Linked DNA regions of Homo sapiens: region 1 is linked to region 2. Evidence: promoter capture Hi-C in human tissues and cell types (Jung and others, 2019). All regions are on one chromosome and are shown on one strand. Each heading gives the region's core, a stretch centred on a gene start or on the middle of the fragment in contact. The rest is flanking DNA. Distances are from core to core; before and after follow the strand shown. Region 1 has its middle 45 kb from the start of SNORD93. Region 2 holds the start of TOMM7 (translocase of outer mitochondrial membrane 7).

The links. Contacts are between HindIII fragments. The study calls those that stand out against the background at their distance.
Region 1: a contact is called between a fragment that was not itself captured here and the fragment with the promoter of TOMM7 in region 2, in 4 of the 25 tissues and cell types used here (hippocampus, neural progenitor cells, spleen and 1 more).

Annotation. Positions count from the first base shown.
Region 1 is chr7:22,899,276-22,903,450 of GRCh38, forward strand. It overlaps a transcript of HYCC1 not described here. Among named protein-coding and RNA genes, the nearest start is that of SNORD93, 45 kb to the left of the region's middle. The HindIII fragment of the contact is 7,280 bases long and covers 1-4,175 here.
Region 2 is chr7:22,820,731-22,824,526 of GRCh38, forward strand. It overlaps TOMM7 (translocase of outer mitochondrial membrane 7), which reads right to left and starts at 2,119. Exons shown (of 3, transcript NM_019059.5): 1 at 1,947-2,119. The coding sequence starts at 2,049. LOC112267993 (a long non-coding RNA gene) reads left to right here and starts at 2,227. Exons shown (of 3, transcript XR_002956543.2): 1 at 2,227-2,969. RefSeq lists enhancers at 1,600-2,360, 2,030-2,109, 2,140-2,349. The HindIII fragment of the contact is 34,135 bases long and covers 1-3,796 here.

The DNA.
Region 1 (4,175 bases), core at 1,594-4,093, 79 kb after region 2:
AAGTCTTCTTGCAGGTTGTACGTGGCCCAACTCCAAGGAAGTTGTACAGCATGGGGGGCCTGGGGATGCTGGCATAGAGGAAATATCCAAAAAATGGAAGAAATTTCCTCCACTACCTTCTCGGAAGGTTAAGGATATCCAATAAGTTAATGTATGTATGTATTAATTAAGTTGTAAGTCATCATGAGACTGACCAACCTGTCCCTCTGCACACACAAGTTGCTAATGAGGCAGAAAATAGTCTCTGCCTTAGAGAATTTATAATTCAATCATCAGTAATGAGTAGCTGTACCCTCCTATTAGAGAAGAAAGTGGGCAATGTGCTTTCAAAATTATGGGCCTGGTTTTCGCAAACCAAACATCTTATTTTTAATTAAACTTTGTAAATGCCAATTCTTTTTTTCTCTAGTTATGAATATCCATATTGTACCAAAATGTGTTAAGTCAAAGATACTTAAAATACTACTTAGGCTTTTAAAAACAAAATTATATGTAACATTGTTTATGACAACTACCTTCTTTTTAAAATGGGAAAGGAACTAGTCAATGGCCCAAATTAATCTTTTTTTTCTCTCTTTTGCTTTTTTTTTAAAGAAAAGTTATGGTTGTCTCCTTTACAGCAAAATAATCTGAAGAGAAATTCTGATCTGTTAGAATAAAATTGAACTGATTCTTTAGGAAATTTCATTTTTGTAGTCAGAAAATTTTATGCATTCATTATTAAATCACTCATTTGTAGATAATAAACATTGTCTACCATAGGCCAGTTTTGCACAGACTTTCAAAATTTATTCCAAAGGGCACTCCTAGCCTAAATAAACAACAAAATGGGAATAGGAGACATGGGCAACAAATACTAGAAGCTACATTTAATGTAATTTTTTAAAGGGGACAGTTTTCCTTTATTAGTAAGATAATTAAAGGGAAATAACAACAACAAAAAAAAGAACTGTGTTAAAAATGTGCTGAGGTTAAAATGTTGGCACACTAAGTACATTTGACAAGCTTAATGACCTTGGCAGGCACTGACCGCTGTTTACTTTGTATTCACCCTCCTTCTTTCCTACTAGCAAATATCAAACAAAGAGAATCCCCTATTTCAGTGTAGATGGATTCATTCTCCAATTCTAGAATGTGAATCAAATTTGTCTAACCTAGTCACTATCCATGGACAATGGTTGGTCTAAAGGTAGTGATTAAACCCAATTTTAGCCAATGAGATGTAAACAGATATCTGCTAGGTAAGCTTCCAGGAAAACCTTTGAAGCACTGTATTAAAAAGGCAAGATCTGCTTAGGGATGTATATTATAATTCTTAGAGCAATCATTAAAATAGCAATACAAAGAAATATAGCTAAAAATCAAATAGATAAATTAAAATGGAATACTAGGAAAATTGTTTAAAAAACAATAAGATGGGAACAGAAGAACAAAAAATGAAGGGTACAGATGATGAGATGATGAAATGATAGACCTAGATTCAGCCATATCAATAATTACATTAAATGTTAATGATCTAAACACATTAAAAAGCAAAAATTATCAGAGTGAGTAGAAAAAAGCAAGACTCAACTATATGCTCTGTACATGATACCATCTTTATTTGTGTCTTCTCTAAGTAAGAAGACACAAATAGGTTTGAAAGTACATGCAACGAAAAACATACTGGCCTGGCATGGTGGTTCATGCCTGTAAGCAATTTGGGAGGCTGAGGCAGGCAGATTCCTTGAGCCCAGGAGTTTGAGACTACCCTGGGCAACATGCCAAAACCTCATCTCTACTAAAAATACAAAAAGTTACCCAGGTGTGGTGGTTTGTGCCTGTAGTCCCAGCTATTTGGAAGGCTGAGGTGGGAGGATCGCTTGAGCCCAGGAAGTTGAGGGGGCAGTAAGCCATGATTGCACCACTGCACTACAGCCTGGACAATGGGAGTGAGACCCTGTCTCAAAAAAAAAAAAAAAAAAAAAAAAAGGAAAGAAAAATATACACCAATAATTCTTTTTAAAAAATGTTAAGCAACCCAGAGGAAGTCAGAAAAAATAAACAAAAAAGAAGAAACTAACAGAAAACTAAAAATAGAAAAAAATAGAATGAAAGATTTAAGCCCTGACATATCAATAATTACATTAAATGTAACTGGTGTAAACACACCAATTAGAAGACGAAGATTGGCAGAGTGGATAAAGAACATAGCCTAACTATATACTGTCTACAAGAAACTCATTTCAAATACAAATCCTAAGAACATTTTTAGGGACTAAATGTTTGTGTTTCCACAAAATTCATTTGTTGAAGCTCTAGCCCCAACTAAGATGGTATTTGGAAAAATAAGTAAGCCTAAGAAGGCTGAAGAGGATATATTGATATCAGATTAAATAAACAATAAGACAAGAATATTACCAGAGATAAAAGAGAATATATCAGAAATATAAAAGGAGCAATCCATCAGAAAGACATATAAATTATAAATATGTGCCTAATAACAGAACCTCAAAATACATGAAGAAAAAAAATTAACCAAATTAAAGGGAGAAACAGATAATTCTGCAATCATAGTAAAATATTTTAATATACTTCTTTTATCAATTGATAGAACAACTAGACAAAATTCAGGACATAGTAGATTTGAATAATACTATAAAATATCTTGATATAATCAGCATTTGTATAATATTACATCCAACAATTGCAGAATACATATCCTCTTCAAGTACACATGGTACATTCACCAAGACAGACCATATGCTGAGCCATAAAACAAATCTCAATAACTTCTAAGGAATTGATAGCATGTAGAGCATATTGTCCAACCACAATAGAATTAAATTACAAATCGTATCAATAAAAGTAACATATCTAGGAAACCTCAAATATTTGGAAATTAAATGCAAGCTTTCAAATGTTATAAGTCAAAGGAGAAATCAGAAGGAAATTTAGAAATTATGTTAAACACAATGACAAAAATAGAACACATAAAAATATATGGGATGTGGGTAAAGCAGTGCTTAGGGAGAAATGTATAGTTTTAAATGCTTGTATTAGAAAACAATTTGATAGTTTTAAATTAATGATTATTTTAAGAAGCTAAAAAAAAACCCAAAGTAAGTATCAGAAAGTAAATAAAATTAATTACAACAAAAGTCAGAAAAATAGAAAACACACAATAGAGAAAATTAACAAAACCAAAAGCTAGTTCTTTGAAAATATTACCAACAAAGAATTATTGGAACCAAAATTTAAATAATCTGAAACTGAGAAGCCCTGAGCTACAGTAACAAACCAGTTTGGCCTTAGCAAACGGTAGATATATAGACCAGGAGAACTGGATAGACAGTCCAGAAATATGCCATATATATGGTTATTTTTTTTAAAGTGTCAAGGAAATTCAATGGAAAAAAATATTTTCAACAAATGGTGCTGGAACTATTGCATATCTATATGGGGAAAAAATGAACACTGACCCTTTCTTCAAATCATGTACAAAAATTAAGGCAAACTGTATAATAGACTAATATAAAATCTAAAACTATAAAACTTCCAGAAGACAACTAGGATAAAATTTTAGTGACCTTGAGATAAACATAGTTTCTTAGATAGGAACACTAAAGCATAGACCATAAATGGAAGAAATGATAAATTAAACTGCAGCAGCCAAGGAAGGTATACAAATGACCAGTAAGCACATAAAAAGGTATTCAATAACATTAGTCATTAGGAAAATGCAAATCAAAACCACAGTAAGATACCACCTCACACATACTAGAATAGCTAGAATAAAAAAGGCAGTGTTGATAAATTTTGGAAAGGAGGTGAAGGAATTGCATCCCTTATACACTCCTGGAGTGGGGGAGTATAAAATAAAGCAGCCACTGTGGAAAACAGTTCAGTGGTTTCTCAAAAGGTTGAACATAGTTTCCACATAATCCAGTAATTTCACTCATAGGCATATATTCAAGCGAAATGAAAACATGCAAGCATACAAACTTGTACACAAATGTTCATAACAGCTTTATTTGTAATAGCCCTAAACTGGAAACAATCTAAAATTGACAAACTTCTTGTAATGAAAAAAAAAGAGACTCCAAATAACCAAGAATTTAAAAACAATTATAACTATAGATTCAACCAATATTAAAAGGATTGTGAGAGAATATTATGAAAAACCTTATGCCAAC
Region 2 (3,796 bases), core at 869-3,368:
GGGACAACACCAACTGTCATATTTACTCTAATCCTTGGTACCCATACAAAGTCACTAAAATCTAGAAAAGTAATGTTTTTTTAAAAAATTGCACCCAGAATAAGGGAGAAAAACGTCTTTTTAAGTTCTATAATCCCAGGTTATCAGTTGGCTTGCAACTCATGGAGAAATAGAAACCACAGCTGCTTAGTCAGAGTGTACTTTATCTTATACAATGCATGACACCTAAATTAAATAGGAAGCAGCACCTTGTTAAAACCATAGCATTTTAAAATGTGAAACTGAGTTTTACAATTGTCAAACTATATGCTCAAACTGACACAGCTGGGATGAAAAACCTGCTCTTTCCCTTTCACCGAACTGCCTGAGTGGGGCAGTAAAATTAAAAAGAAAAAACTTGGCCAGGCACGGTGGCTCACGCCTGTAATCCCAGCACTTTGGGAGGCCGAGGCGGGCGGATCACGAGGTCAGGAGATCGAGACCATCCTGGCTAACACGGTGAAACCCCGTTTCTAGTAAAAATACAAAATATTAGCCCGGCATGGTGGCGGGCGCTGTAGTCCCAGCTGTGCGGGAGGCTGAGGCAGGAGAATGGCGAGAACCCGGGAGGCGGAGCTTGCAGTGAGCTGAGATCGCGCCACTGCACTCCAGCCTGGGCGAGGCAGACCCCGTCTCAAAAAAAAAAAAAAAAAAGAAAAAGAAAAAACTACAGCCTGGCCGCGGTGATTCACACTTGTAATCCCAGCACTTTGGGAGGCCGCGCGCGGGGCGGAGGCCGGCTGGAGGGGAGGTAGCTAACTTGAGGCCAGGAGTTTGAGGCCAGCCTGGCCCACATAAGCAAAACCCCGTCTCTACTAAAAATATAAACATTAGCCGCGAGCGGTGGCTGCAAGTCTGTAATCACAGCTACTCGGGAGGCTAAGGGGGAAGGATCGCTTGATCCCGAGAGGCAGAGATTGCGGTGGGCAGAGATCGCGCCACTACACTCCAGCCTGGGCACACAGCGACTGTCTCAAAAAGGAAAAAAGGAAAAAAAAAGACAGAAAAGAAAAGAAAAAACTACAGAATAGGTCCCAGTCTGCAACCCTAACTGAAAAATATTAACAAATCCTTGCAGTAAGTGACCGAGCCTGTTGGCACCAGCCTGTAGTCCCAGCTACTTGGGAGACTGAGGTGGAAGGATCGCTAGAGCACAGGAGGGGAAGGTTGCAATGAGCCGGGATAGCGCCACTGCACTCCAGTCTGGGTGACAGAGCGAGACTCTGTCTTAAAAACAAAAACCAAAAAAACCCCAAATCCTTTAAGTGCGCTATAATGGTTAAGACTATGGGCTCTGATGCCCCACTGCCTGAGCCCCTAACTCCCTCAGTCAGCATAGCTGTGCGACCTTGGCAAAAAAGTTTCTCTACGGCTGTTTCCTCACCTGTAAAATGGGGGCAGTAATAGAAATCATCCAAACCCTTCATCGTACAGGTAAGAAAGCAGAGGCATCCAACGACTATTATTATAATCATGCTTTCATGGCAGTGGTACTTTCACGAGGTGTCTCGATTCCCTGAACAGGACTCTTTCCACTTAGGACCACATGGAGCGGTGAGGAAAAACACCCCGAGAACCACCTAGTGCTAGAGAGTGAATTAGTGACTTTCACATCCACTGGGGTCATCCAACCCTCCCTACAATCCCGAGAAATATGACCTCCACTTTAAGGATGCAAAAATAGAAAAGGAGGGATTGCAAGACTGCTTAAAGACCATGCAACTATAAAGCGATAGAACGGGAACTCGAACTCAGGTTAGATCGGCCCCACTTGACCAGACAGCCTCAGGGGCCGTGCACGGCAGTGTCCCCTATTTTTCTCTCCCTCCCCCGACGGCCAAAAATGGGGCTGCTGTCTCCGCCACCCTCTTCCCTCCAGTCACTTTCCCGGTTCTTCTCCCACTGACCCAGGTAAATCACAAGAGGGATAAAGCCCCAGCGAATGGCAAACTGGCTCCCCTTGAAGAGCTGCTGTAGTCTCTGCTTGGCCTCTTTGCTCAGCTTCACCATGGCGACGGCCGTGTGGCGCAGGGAGGACCCCTTACAGCAACCACAGCGTCGGGAATCCGAAAGGGAAAGGAGGTGCGCAGGCGCCACACACGGCCTTTACGGCAGGAGTCGTGAGCGTCGCCAGCAGAGGTCGTAATTCATCGCCTTTAACCTTCCCTGCTCTTCCGCCTCGCCGGCAGTAGTAGGCGCATGCGTGGTTGCGATCATGGCTGGCGGTAACTTCGCGTTTCTGTTACCCATTTTTAAAACGCATCTTCAGGTGTTCCTTCCTTCTCATGGAAGGAACATTAATTAAATTCAGAGGGACTGGGTTTTAGTCCTAACTCTTATTCCTACTGGCTGTGTAACCGTGGACAAATTATTTAACTTCTCAGAATCAGGTTGTTCAAACCTGAGGTTGAACTGCAAAAAGGTTACGAAGTGACACTCAGTAGGGCCCGAATCCATGTTTTCTTTGATCCCAATCTTTTTTAAAAAAATTTCTTTTAATTACTTGCCAACATTTTAGAATTTGGAAATCTCACATGAAATTCTGGACTTTTGAAGCTGAGGAATTCCATTGCAACAATCAAGGAGACTAAATAGGAAATGACACTTCTGTTTGGCCATCTTGCCCTCATTGGTTTAGAATGGCAGTGGTTCTCAACCCTGGCTGCACATTAGAATCACTTTAGGAGAGGTAAAACCATACTCACGCTGGAGACCTACTCCTAGAAATTCTAAAGAGTTTGGGGCTGGGAACTGGCCATTGATCTGCCTTTGAAGTTTCCCAAGTGATTCCCAACCTCTGATGTAATAAATTTCTGGCTGCTGTCGTATTTGAGATTTGACCCCCCCAGGTCTAAGACTTAATTGATTTTTAAGGCTGTAAGACATTTCTAAGACTTTGACTTTTAAGACTTTCCTGCCTCATTCTGAAGGTACGTAGTCGTTTTCTGTGCCCAATGTCTGTGCTCCTAAAAATTTCCCCTTGCTGACCTCTGTGGCTTGCGCCTGTAATTCTGGCTATTTGGGAGGCTGAGGCGGGAGGACCACTTGAGTTTGATGCTGCAGTGAGCTGTGATTGGGTCACTTGCTGTAAGCTCCCAAAGGGTTCACTTTGCCCGCTGCCTGGACAGAGCCGATTGATCAACACTGGGGAATTACAATAAAGAGTAATTCACGCAGAGCTGGCTGTGCAGGAGACCAGAGTTTTATTATTACTCAAATCAGTATCCCATAGCATTCGGGGATCAGAGTTTTTAAGGACAATTTGGTGCGTGGGGAGACAGCCAGTAAGTCGGAAGTGCTGATTGGTTGGGTCAGAGATGAAATCACAGGGAGTGGAAGCTGTCTTGTACTGCCTCAGTTCCTGGGTCGGGGCCACAAGATCAGATGAGCCAGTTTGCCGATCTGGGTGGTGCCAGCTGATCCATTTTGCAGGCTCTGCAAAGTATCTCAAGCACTGATGTTAGGCTTTACAATAGTGTTATTCCCAGGAGCAATTTGGGAAGGGTCAGAATCTTAGTTCCTGGGTTGGGACCACAAGATCAGATGAGCCAGTTTACCTATCTGGGTGGTTCCAGCTGATCCATTTTGCAGGGTCTGCAAAATATCTCAAACACTGATGTTAGGCTTTACAATAGAGTTGTTATCCCCAGGAGCAATTTGGGGAGGGTCAGAATCTTGTAGCCTCCAGCTGCATGACTCCTAAACCATAATGTCTAATCTTTTCGCTAATCTGTTAGCCTGTATACCAAACCTGCAC